Regions from separate parts of the Homo sapiens genome. Here regions 1, 3 and 4 are each linked to region 2. The links are contacts of gene promoters, found by promoter capture Hi-C in blood cells and fetal thymus (Javierre and others, 2016). All regions are on one chromosome and are shown on one strand. The core of a region is centred on a gene start or on the middle of the fragment in contact, and the rest is flanking DNA. Distances in the headings are between cores, read along the strand shown.

What was found. Contacts are between HindIII fragments. The CHiCAGO score rates a contact against its expected background, and 5 or more counts as called.
Region 1: a contact is called between a fragment that was not itself captured here and the fragment with the promoter of ACTR8 in region 2, in 3 of 17 cell types (fetal thymus, activated CD4 T cells and non-activated CD4 T cells). The highest score is 7.4, in fetal thymus.
Region 3: a fragment that was not itself captured here is called in contact with the fragment with the promoter of ACTR8 in region 2 in 1 of 17 cell types (non-activated CD4 T cells); the score reaches 7.0 in non-activated CD4 T cells.
Region 4: a fragment that was not itself captured here is called in contact with the fragment with the promoter of ACTR8 in region 2 in 1 of 17 cell types (non-activated CD4 T cells); the score reaches 7.2 in non-activated CD4 T cells.

Annotation. Positions count from the first base shown.
Region 1 is chr3:57,557,292-57,559,991 of GRCh38, reverse strand. PDE12 (phosphodiesterase 12) reads right to left here. Exons shown (of 3, transcript NM_177966.7): 1 at 2,305-2,700; 2 at 604-682; 3 at 1-430. Among named protein-coding and RNA genes, the nearest start is that of PDE12, 2.4 kb to the right of the region's middle. RefSeq lists an enhancer at 1,256-1,888. The HindIII fragment of the contact is 2,956 bases long and covers 1-2,700 here.
Region 2 is chr3:53,880,761-53,883,460 of GRCh38, reverse strand. ACTR8 (actin related protein 8) reads left to right here and starts at 1,309. Exons shown (of 13, transcript NM_022899.5): 1 at 1,309-1,482. The coding sequence starts at 1,360. RefSeq lists silencers at 1,093-1,182, 1,573-1,682 and an enhancer at 1,343-1,422. The HindIII fragment of the contact is 9,111 bases long and covers 1-1,966 here.
Region 3 is chr3:57,580,279-57,582,978 of GRCh38, reverse strand. All of the region lies in intron 3 of ARF4 (ARF GTPase 4), which reads left to right. It also overlaps a transcript of PDE12 not described here. Among named protein-coding and RNA genes, the nearest start is that of ARF4, 16 kb to the left of the region's middle. The HindIII fragment of the contact is 881 bases long and covers 810-1,690 here.
Region 4 is chr3:57,221,842-57,224,541 of GRCh38, reverse strand. It overlaps a transcript of HESX1 not described here. Among named protein-coding and RNA genes, the nearest start is that of APPL1, 4.5 kb to the left of the region's middle. The HindIII fragment of the contact is 253 bases long and covers 1,324-1,576 here.

The DNA of each region.
Region 1 (2,700 bases), core at 146-2,645, 3.7 Mb before region 2:
AAATCACATACAAGTGCTATGTGATCAGAGGGATGGGAAACACTAGGTAAGGCCTGGTGGGTGGTAACTTCTTCATGACTAGGTAATGGAATCACCTGTTCAACCTCTAAAGCATTTAAGTCAATGAAAATGTAATCTAGACATCCATGAAAGCCACCAACATAATTTGTGTAAGCAGGTTCACCACAAGCACTTTTCAGCTTGAAGAAATGTGTAAGAGACATATTGCATCTTTCCTCCTCCCCATTGGAAGCCCAGTCTTCATGATCCTCTGGAATGCTGCCATTGATGACAAAATGATACATTCCTGTTGATGGTGTACTATTAAAGTCCCCACAAAATATAACTGGTATGCCAGGATACAGATCACATGAAACATGTCTTATGTGAGCCAAGGCTACTGCCATTTGAATGAGGCGAATATACCCACCTATGAATATAAAAAACATTAATGTAAGTATTTTTTAAAGTTGTCTTTAAGTTAAAAAAGAAAAACTACACAAATTACAGTCTCTGGGTGACGTTCAAGATATGCATTTGTGTAAAACACTTTAAACAACTTTAAGCGTGTTTAAGTCACTTGTGATACCAAATAAAACCTACCTTTAGGATGCCAGTAAAGATGGGTATTAGCAACACATATCCTTTTAGAAGAGTCCTTTGTAGACTGAAGAACTGAAACCTAAAATAAACGGAAAGTGCCAAGAGTTCAGTTGGCATTTGCAAATCTCCTGAATGTTTTTGTTTGTTTGTTTGTTTTTTTGAGTTTTTTCGAGACAGTCTCACTCTGTCAACCAGGCTGGAGTGCAGTAGCGCGATCTCGGCTCACTGCAAGCTCCGCCTCCCGGGTTCAAGCGATTCCCCTGCCTCTGCCTCCGGAGTAGCTGGGACTACAGGCGCGTGCCACCACGCCCGGCTAATTTTTTTGTATTTGTAGTAGAGACGGGGTTTCATCGTGTTAGCCAGGATGGTCTCGATTTCCTGACTTGTGATCCACCCGCCTCGGCCTCCCAAAGTGCTGGGATTACAGGCATAAGCCACCAGGCCCGGCCTGTTTTTTATCTAAGACTAATGGCGAACTAACGTTTTCTTCCATCTCCTTCCCTTGATGAACTAGGACTGCAGTCATGAAATCCAACTTAAAGTTTCAGGATCTACATGACTAGGTTCAGTGTAACATGTTTTAATAATAGTCCAATATAGGCCGGGCGTGGTGGCTCACGCCTGTAATCCCAGCACTTTGGGAGGCTGAGGCGGGCGGATCACGAGGTCAGGAGATCGAGACCATCCTGGCTAACATGGTGAAACCCCAAACCCCGTCTCTACTAAAAAAATTAGCCGGGCGTGGTGGCACGCGCCTCTAGTCCCAGCTACTAGGGAGGCTGAGGCAGGAGAATCGCTTGAACCCGGGAGGCGGAAGTTGCGGTGAGCCGATATCGCGCCACCGTACTCCAGCCTAGGTGACAGAGACTCCGTCTCAAAATAATAATAATAATAATAATAGTCCAATATATAAAGCTAGTAATATAAACAATACATTTTACATGACAACACTTTGACTGGAGAAAGTGTTTTCAAGCGTAAGCACAGGCTTTGGAGTCAGGCAGACCTGGGTTTGAATACTCATTTCACCATTTATAGCAATGTGACCTGCAAAAAGATGCTTTTCTAGCCAGTTTCGTACTGGCAGTCACTGACAATACCATCCACCTCATGGGCTGTTGTGTGGAGTCAATTAAATGATCTTATAAGGTGCATGAAACACCTTAGGTACTTAAAAAATGGTAGCTGCTCTTCTTATTATGAACAAAATCAATTACTTAAAAACTTTAACACAAGAATGACATCTATAAAATGGGAATAGGGGACTTACTGTGAAGATTCAATGAGCCTATGATTTAAAAAAAACTAGTTTATATTTATGGAGCACTTCAAAACACACCACGCTCTTAAATTTTAAGTACTTTAAAATGTGCCAGAACAGTGCTTGGCAAGTAGTAAAAAACATTAGCTACTATTGTTCTTGCATTTAGCGTGTGTCCCTCTCGCTAGATTGTAAGCACTGTAAAAGTCCCTGCTAGTCTTGTTCAAGGCAACCTGCAGTATGGCAGGCACACCAGAGGTGTTCAAAAAATATCTGCTGAATGAATGAAGAGTAAACTTTGTGCTGAAGATACAAGGGCAAACACACCTTTCAACAATATCTGGATACTTTCATCGCACTTTTAACCCCCACCTCATTCCTCGCCTTCCTGGCCCCTAAAAGTGGGACAGTATGTGAAGAGACGGGCGGAACTACTTTACCTGAAGAACAGAAGATCTCTGGAGCACCTTCTCCTGCGCTGATGGGTACAAAACTAGTTTCTCCAGCAGTTCTTTGTGAAGTGGGTCGGACTCGAGGGCTTCGTAGAATGAAATGTCATGCTGGCTAAGAAGGCTGAACTTAGACTTTCGGTAGAAAGTGGCCAGGCCTTCGTGCTGCTTGATTCGAAACACCCCCTCGAGCCCGAAGGCCTCTAGGGCGGGTACCAAGCTGTCAGAAAACACTGCGCGGTCAACCTCCTGCAAACAGATGACATCGGCGTTGTAGCCGGTGAGTTCCTTCTGGATAAGGTTCTGGCGGTAGTCGAGCTCCAGGGCGTAGGGGGCACAGTATGGGTACAGAACCGTTCGCGAGAACTCAGTCTGCGCGTACGTGTC
Region 2 (2,700 bases), core at 60-2,559:
TTATTGGGCACCTACCATGTGCTGAAGATAACTGGCAAAGTCTCACGGAGCTTACATTCTAGTGTGGGAGACAGTGAGCAGGCATGATAATTACAGACTAATGCTTCATGCTTCAAAGGGAATAGGATGATGAGAGAATAACTGCGGAAGGCCTGAGGTGACATTTGAGTTCAGACGTGAGAATGAGACAGCTGAGGGAAGAGCATCCAAGGCAAAATGAACAGCAAGTGCAACAGCCCGATGACGGGAAGGGCTTGGCATGTCTGAGAAAGATAAAACAGGTGTAGCTGGAAATGCCAAGGAATGGGGAGAGTGTTGTGAGGTGAACTTAGAAATGTAGCAATAACTAGATATGGTCTTTAGGTGGTGGTTAGTTTAGATTCTGTTCTTTGAGCAAAGGGAAACCATTAGAGTTTAAAGCATGAGTGACATCTAATTTTTGAGGTAAGTCTTAGTGGAGTGCTGGGTACATAGTAGTATTAACTACGTAATATTTTAAAACAACGTGGGCAACTATATAAGAACAGATCATAGGGGGACAGGACAAGGAGTTCGAGTTAAGAGGCTGTTGTAGTCATCCAGGTGAGATGATAGTGGCTTGGGCTAGGTAGTGGCATGGGAATGGAGAAGTGGATGAATTCAAGATCTATTTTAGAGACTGCAGGATTTACTGATGGATTGGATGTAGAAGCTGTCAACAAGTGAAGAATCAAAATGACATTTACTGAGATGGTGAAAGTGAGAGGGGAGGGAATCAAGAGTTAAATTTTGGACATATTTAAGTTTGCAGTGCCTTGTAGACAATCCAGATGGAGAGACCAAGTAGGCACTGGTTATCAGTACGGATCTCTCTGAGCGGTTCATCCTGGATATATATATTTGGGAATCGTATTCATTGCTAAAGCCAGGAAACTGGATAGTCACCCAAGGAGTGTGCCTGGAAAAGACCTAACCCCAACATCAGAGGCTGGACTGAACATGAAGACATATGAGAAAAACTAAGAGTACATATGGTATCTGGGAAGCCAGGAGAAGAGATGCCTGTGAGGACGAAATAAGATGCGGGTTATCAGCCGACCCCCACTAGGCGCTCGAAAAGCTATGTGTACTATGTTGCTGGCATCTACACAGTCAGGACTAATCACAGCAACACCCACCCAATCAATCCGCATGCACACCCCGCCCCCAGCCCCTGCGCCGGGCAGCCCCACCCCCGCCTTTTCGGAGCCCTCTGGGGCGACTCCGCGGCGGCCATCTTGACTGTGGGCAGCCGGCCGTGCGCCTGCGCGGTGGCCCTTCCATCCCGGCAGTCGTGGCTGCAGCGCTGAGGCGAGAGGTTGGTGGGTGTCTCCGGCCATAATGACCCAGGCTGAGAAGGGTGATACGGAGAACGGAAAGGAGAAGGGCGGCGAGAAGGAGAAGGAGCAGCGCGGCGTGAAGCGGCCCATCGTGCCCGCGCTGGTGCCGGAGTCGCTGCAAGAGGTGCGGCTCTGGCTGGGTTGGAACTCTTTGCCCTTGCTTGGGTCCTCCGCTGCCAGGCAAGGGGCGGGAGGCGGCGGGAGGCTTCGAGTCCCCCTTGCAGGCCCCAGCCCCTGGTGGGGGGAGTGCGGAAGCGGTCGTTCTTTTCCGGGTGGTGGCGCGCCGGGACGCCGAGGGCTGGGAGGTGCGGAGCGCCAGGAGCCAGGCGGAGCCCCCGCAGGGACACCGCTCCGATCTCCCGCACGCCCCACCGTCTGGTTGTGTGCGCTCCTGCCCGGGCTCTGGCCTCAGCTTCCCCGACCATAAAACGACCACGGTGATAACCAGCCGCCTCGCAAGTTGCCGTGAGGGTTAAATGGTGGCAGATAGAGTTTAGGACCAGGCTGGCTCACTGGGAGCGTCAGCCTGTGCTTGTTAAGGGATAGTTTGGGGTCCAGGCTTTTTCCTTTGTTAAGGAAATCTCAGATAATGGAAGTCATTTCAAGCTTAAAAGCAAGGAAATGGTGGACATTTGTCTAAATATATATTAAGAGCTTGTGTATCAAAAACAACACTATTAGACCAAACTAAACTAACCAGAAAAAATTATTTGCAGTAGCGTGCCTGGCAGAGGACCTTAGATGTATACACATACACAAAACCTTACTGATCAGTAACTAAAACAGCATTCACGTAGGAAAACGGGCACAGGCAGTGTACAATTCACAGAAGAAATGAGGCATAAACTGCTCAGAAATTCATGTAGGACATCTCTGATCCAGCTTCCTTACCGGTAGATGGGTTAAGGATAATACCTAACTAGTAGGGCAGCTACTAGTTAGTTATCACTAGTATGACAGTGCCTGGCACACCGTAAGCCCAGAGTGGCCATTACTGTTGCACAGGCCTGGTTTCTCCATCTGTCTAGTTGAGAAGGCTGACTGGATGGTCTGTAAGGGCCTTGCCAGATCCTTCCCTCTAGGATTCTCCCACTCTGTGGGGGGTGATTAGGAGGAGAGAGGTCACACTTGGAGATAGGACAACAGGTATCAGAGCATGGCATGGAATGGGCTTGTGCAGAGGGCAGTATTGGGCACTCAAGCAAGTACCTCCTCCATCCCCGACAGTCAGGGAGGGTTTCTTCAAAGGAGGTGAGGTGACATCTGTTTAGAGTCCTGAAGGTGATTAGGAGCTAACCAGAGGGAGGAGGGAATCTCAGGGAAGAAGAACAGTGTGGAAGAC
Region 3 (2,700 bases), core at 1-2,500, 3.7 Mb before region 2:
AATCTCTCCACACCTGCAAAATATCCCCTGGGGGCAAAATTGCTCCCTGCTGAGAACCACTGTTCTAATCTAACTCTCTTACATATGAGGAAACTGAAACTTGGAATGACTTACCCAAGATGGGAGAGTTTGTTCTCACTCTACCTTTGTTTAACCTGGTCCCACCTCGATTGTGTTTTCTACCACCCAAGGAATTTCTTGTCAGTTTTTTTTTATTACTTAATAATTTTTTTTAAGTGTGATATCACTGCCACTTTATATTTTTAAGACTTGCAATGTCATCTTGTTATCAGCCTCTTAAAACATTGCATACAAGTGGGGTTTATTGCCATCAGGTGGCAGTGAATACCCTAGGTGAGTGGCTGGGACAACCAGGTTTACATAGTATGTCATATTAAATAAGTGGTATACTTTTTTATTTAAAAACGAGAATGTTTAGGCCAGGCACGGTGGCTCATGCCTGTGATCCCAGCACTTTGGGAGGCTGAGGCGGGCGGATCACGAGGTCAGGAGTTCAAGACCAGCCTGACCAACACAGTGAAACCCCGTCTTTACTAAAAATACAAAAATTAGCCGGGCGTGGTGGCGCGCACCTGTGATCCCAGCTACTCAGGAGGCTGAGGCAGGAGAATCACTTGAACCCGGGAGGTGGAGGTTGTGATGAGCCGAGATCACACCATTGCACTCCAGCATGGGTGACAAAGCGAGACTCTGTCTCAAAAAAAAAAAAATAGTAGAATGTTTATGGTCATCAATATAGCTGTGACTAGAAAAGATACTTGATACAGAGGCACATGCTTTAAAAAGCTTCCTTATGGAAAATGTTAAATACAAGGTGAACATTCCTTATCCGAAATTCTTGGGACCAGAAACCACTGTTTCTGATCTCAGAATTTTGGGGGTTTTGGAATATTTGCATTGTACCCAGTTGAGCATTCTAAATCCAGAAATCCAAAATCCGATATACTCCAGGGAGTTTTTTCTTTGTTATGTTGGTGCTCGGGAAGTTTTGGATTTGGATTTTTGGATTAAGGAAACTCAATCTGTACACCTACAAATAGAATAGCATAATAAACTCACATGTATGTATTATGCAGCTTCAGTTACTAGGATATAAGCAGTGCTGTGTTGTTTCATACTCATCTCTAATGTGCTCTACCCTCTAGACAGTTTGTTTATTTTTTTTGAGATGGAGTTCTCGTCCTGTCACCCAGGCTATGGCGCAATCTTGGCTCACTGCAACCTCTGCCTCCTGGGTTCAAGCGATTCTCCTGCCTCAGCCTCCCAAGTAGCTGGGACTTCAGGCATGCGCCACCACACCTGGCTAATTTTGTATTTTTAGTAGAGACGGGGTTTCACCATGTTAGCCAGGCTGGTCTCGATCTCCTGACCTCATGTGATCCACCTGCCTGGGCTTCCCAAAGTGCTGGGATTACAGGCATGAGCTACTGCGCTTGGCCAATATATTTTGAAAGAGTTAGATATGAAGTAAAACCTTGCTAATCCTTAAGCCTAATAATTCTTGACCAAGGGTAACCCTGGGTTTATCCCTAGATTTGTTTAGAATGCTTTGTAATTTACTTTGCATTCTTAATTTGAAATTAGACCCAATTCTGGCCTCTTTGGACCATCTGAGAATTAAAAGTCTAAGTACTGCTTCCTAGGGAGTTCATGCTAGCTGGGGAAAGCTTTATGTGTTACCTGATAGAATCAAAGCTAAGCTCTTAGCTTGCATTCCCAGCATTACTGATCAGTTCTCCTAGCTATAAAATTTAAAAGAAACTATAGCTTTAACCATGTTTCTAACTTATACTAACAAACCATGGCACAGTGTGTAGTAAATTCCTCTTATAATTCCAACTAATTTGCCATTGTAAATAAGTAAATATTTGGCTTTTCAAATAATTTCATAGCAGCTGGGCTTATCTGTAGAATCCTAGCTTTTCTTCACTCTTGATTCTAGGCTGTTCCAGGAAGAAAATAATTAGGGATTAATACCTAAAATAATTCTCCTTCTCAATAATGTCACTTTGGGACTGATAGCATTATTTGCATTTTAAAACAAAGGCTGGGTGCAGTGGCTTATGCCTGTACTCTCAGCACTTTGGGAGGCTGAGGTGGGAGGATCGCTTGAGCTCAGGAGTTTGAGGCCAGCCTGGGGAACATAGTGAGACCCTGTCTTTACATTTAAAAAAAAAAAAAAAGAATAAAAATGGGAAGTTAGCAGTCAAAATAAAATTAGGTCCCTTTTAGGGGCATTACCTCTTGTAAAGGGTAGGTTTCAGGACCGGGTGCTATGGCTTATGCCTGAAACACCAACACTTTGGGAGGCCATGATACGAGGATCACTTGAGGCCAGTCCAGGCAACAGAGTGAAACCCTGTCTCTACAAAAAAAAATTAAAAAAAAATTACCTGGGCATGGTGGCATACTCCTGTAGTCCCAGCTACTTGAGAGGCTGAGGTGGGAGGATCACCTGAGCACAGGAGTTGGAGGCTGAAGTGAGCTACAGTTGCGCCTCTGTACTCCAGCCTGGGGGACAAAAGGAGACCTTGCCTCTTTTTTGAAAAAAAGAAGAAACAAAAAAATGGAAGGTTTGGTTCTAAAAAGGAGTAGCTTTTGAAATATGGAAAGGAGGAGACATATTTGCTAAATAAATGCCCATGATAAGCCAAGAACAATGATCTTTTATATCTCTGT
Region 4 (2,700 bases), core at 201-2,700, 3.3 Mb before region 2:
TGGGTAATCCACAAACCACATGAGGAAAAACTCTATCCAAGATGGAGAATGATCATTTCCCTTTCCTAAATCACTTTGTATTTAAAAAAAATTTTTAAAGAGTCAGGTGGGCACAGTAGCTCATGCTTGTAATCCTAGCACTTTGGGAGGTCAAGGTGGAAGGATTGCTTAAGCTCTGGAGTTTGAGACTAGCCTGGGCAACACAGAGACACCATCTCTACAAAAAAAAATTAAATTAAATTAAAATTTTAAAAAATTGGCCTGGTGCAGTGGCTCATGCCTGTAATCCCAGCACTTCGGGAGGCCGAGGCGGGTGGATCACCTGAGGTCAAGAGTTCAAGACCAGGCTGGGCAACATAGTGAAACCCCGTCTCTGCAAAAATTAGCTGGATGTGGTGGCAGGTTCCTATTATCCCAGCTACTCGGGAGGCTGAGGCAGGAGAATCGCTTGAACTTGGGAGGCGGAGGTTGCAGTGAGCCGAAATCACACCACTGCACTCCAACCTGGGTGACAAAGCGAGACTCAGTCTAAATTAAAACAAAAATTAACAAAAAATAAAGAGTCAAGCAAACATTTAGAAAAGGAATCCTAGATTCCAGCTAAGGATGGTGAGGACATGATTTCCAGGCTAACGAGCTGGAAACCACCTACTCACAAATATTCTCTAAAAGACTCCATCAATCTAAAATTCTGGGAAATTCATACTCCTTTTAAAGAGTGTAATGTATAATGCAAAAAATTCTGGTTGTTACCTAGTAAATCACTCCTTAATAGGACTAACTTTAACAGATAATTCATTATTTTCTTAATACCAGCTGAGATAAAGCAGATTCAGGAAAGAGCAGATTTCAAGAAAATTGATAATTTGGGAACTTCAGTCATTTAATCTATTTTAAAACATTAGAGCCAGTAGCAGAGTAGGGGGAAGCTTTGGACAATTGGAGGGTAAAACAAAAAGTTCTGAGGAATGGGTTGCAAAAAGAGGTGGGAGGGCACTAAGGACCAACTGGTTGGTTCTTCATTGTGCCACTGCAAACTAGCTTCTGCCTTTGACCTTGACCTTGATGTCACTTTTACTCATTGCCACAGCATCCTTAGAATGTGGGACAATTCTGCAGCTTCAACTTTCTTGATGGTAAAAAGAAAAAAAAAAACTTCTAGGAAAATTGTATATGCTTTTGTTTATCTATGGTTGCCTTGATTCCTTTTTAGAAGAACACATTAATTAATTTGTCTGAGCAGGCCAAGAACTTTAACACAAAATAGCATCATAGCCCTTCTGTGGAGAGGTAGATGAGAACATGGTTATGAGCTAATAAGCTTGGGCTGTGATTTAAATTCTGGCTCCACTGTTTAGTAGCTCTGTGACTTAAGTAAGGTTATTTAACTTCTCTGTTTCTCCATTCTGCCATCTGAAAAATGGAGCTTAATACTAGAGAACTTACATTAATAGTATTGTTAAGATGATTAATGAGCTTTTAGAGTAGCTCCTAGCGCAATAAGCATTCAGTAAAAATTATCTTTTTCATTATCAACTATTAAATATTAAAATATTTTAATACATTTAAGGAAGCTTTTTTGTCTCTATCATATTTTTTTAAAAACTAATATTTTTTAAATCAGAAGATTGGGCTCATTACCTTAGAGAATCCTGATGCTATTTTAAATAACATTAGTTACTCTTGCTAATGTTTTATCACTTTGATTTGGGGGCTTTTGAGGCCAAAACCAAAATTTCAAAATCAATAAATATGTACTTTGAAATTCTGGAGGAAAAGTGTACCAAAACAATTACCAAAATAGCCAAGATTATTGCCATTTTGAGGTTTTTAGGAGTTTTTGTTTTGTTTTTTGTTTTGTTTTTTGTTTGGCGGGTGGTGAGTGGGTAGAGGTGCCCCAAAGTTAAAAGATTTTCATGACACTTACCCCACATGGGAATTCTGGAAGGAACAGTCAAATCATTGGGGAAAAAATTGCTCATAGGCTGGGGGCGGTGGCTCACAGCTGTAATCCCAAAATTTTGGGAGGCTGAGGTGGGAGGATCGCTTGAGCCCAGGAATTTGAGACTAACCTGTGCAACATAGTGAGACCGTGTCTCTACAAAAAATTTAAAAATTAGCCAGGTGTGGTGGCACATGCCTGTAGTCCCAGTTACTCGGGAGGCTGAGGTGGGAGGATTGCTTAAGCCCAGGAGGTCAAGGCTGCAGTGAGCCGTGATCTTGCCGCTGTACTCCAGCCTGGTGATAGCGAGACCCTGTCTCAAAAAAATGCTTTTAGGGAAATTAATATGTCCTGTGCCTGTTTAATCATTGAAAACATTTTAATATTTTCAGAGCCATAGAGGGCAGTGAAAAACAGAGTAGCAGAATTGATTATACCAGTACTATTTATCCAATGGCTAATACAAATAAGACTCTCAGGGATAATTCACACGTGCTTCCAAGAACACTAGATGGCACCAATTATTTAGGATTCAGACTACCTCAGGGAACAGCTGTCTTCATTCAACAAATATTTATTAAATAATGAACAAAACAAAAATATCTGTCATTGTGGAGCTACAGGTTAGTAGATATGGTGGGGAGAAAGACAATAAAAAATAAACATAGTAAGTAGTATTAGAAGTATAGCATATTGGCCGGGAGCAGTGGCTCATGCCTATAATCCCAGCACTTTGGGAGGCCAAGGCGGGTGGATCA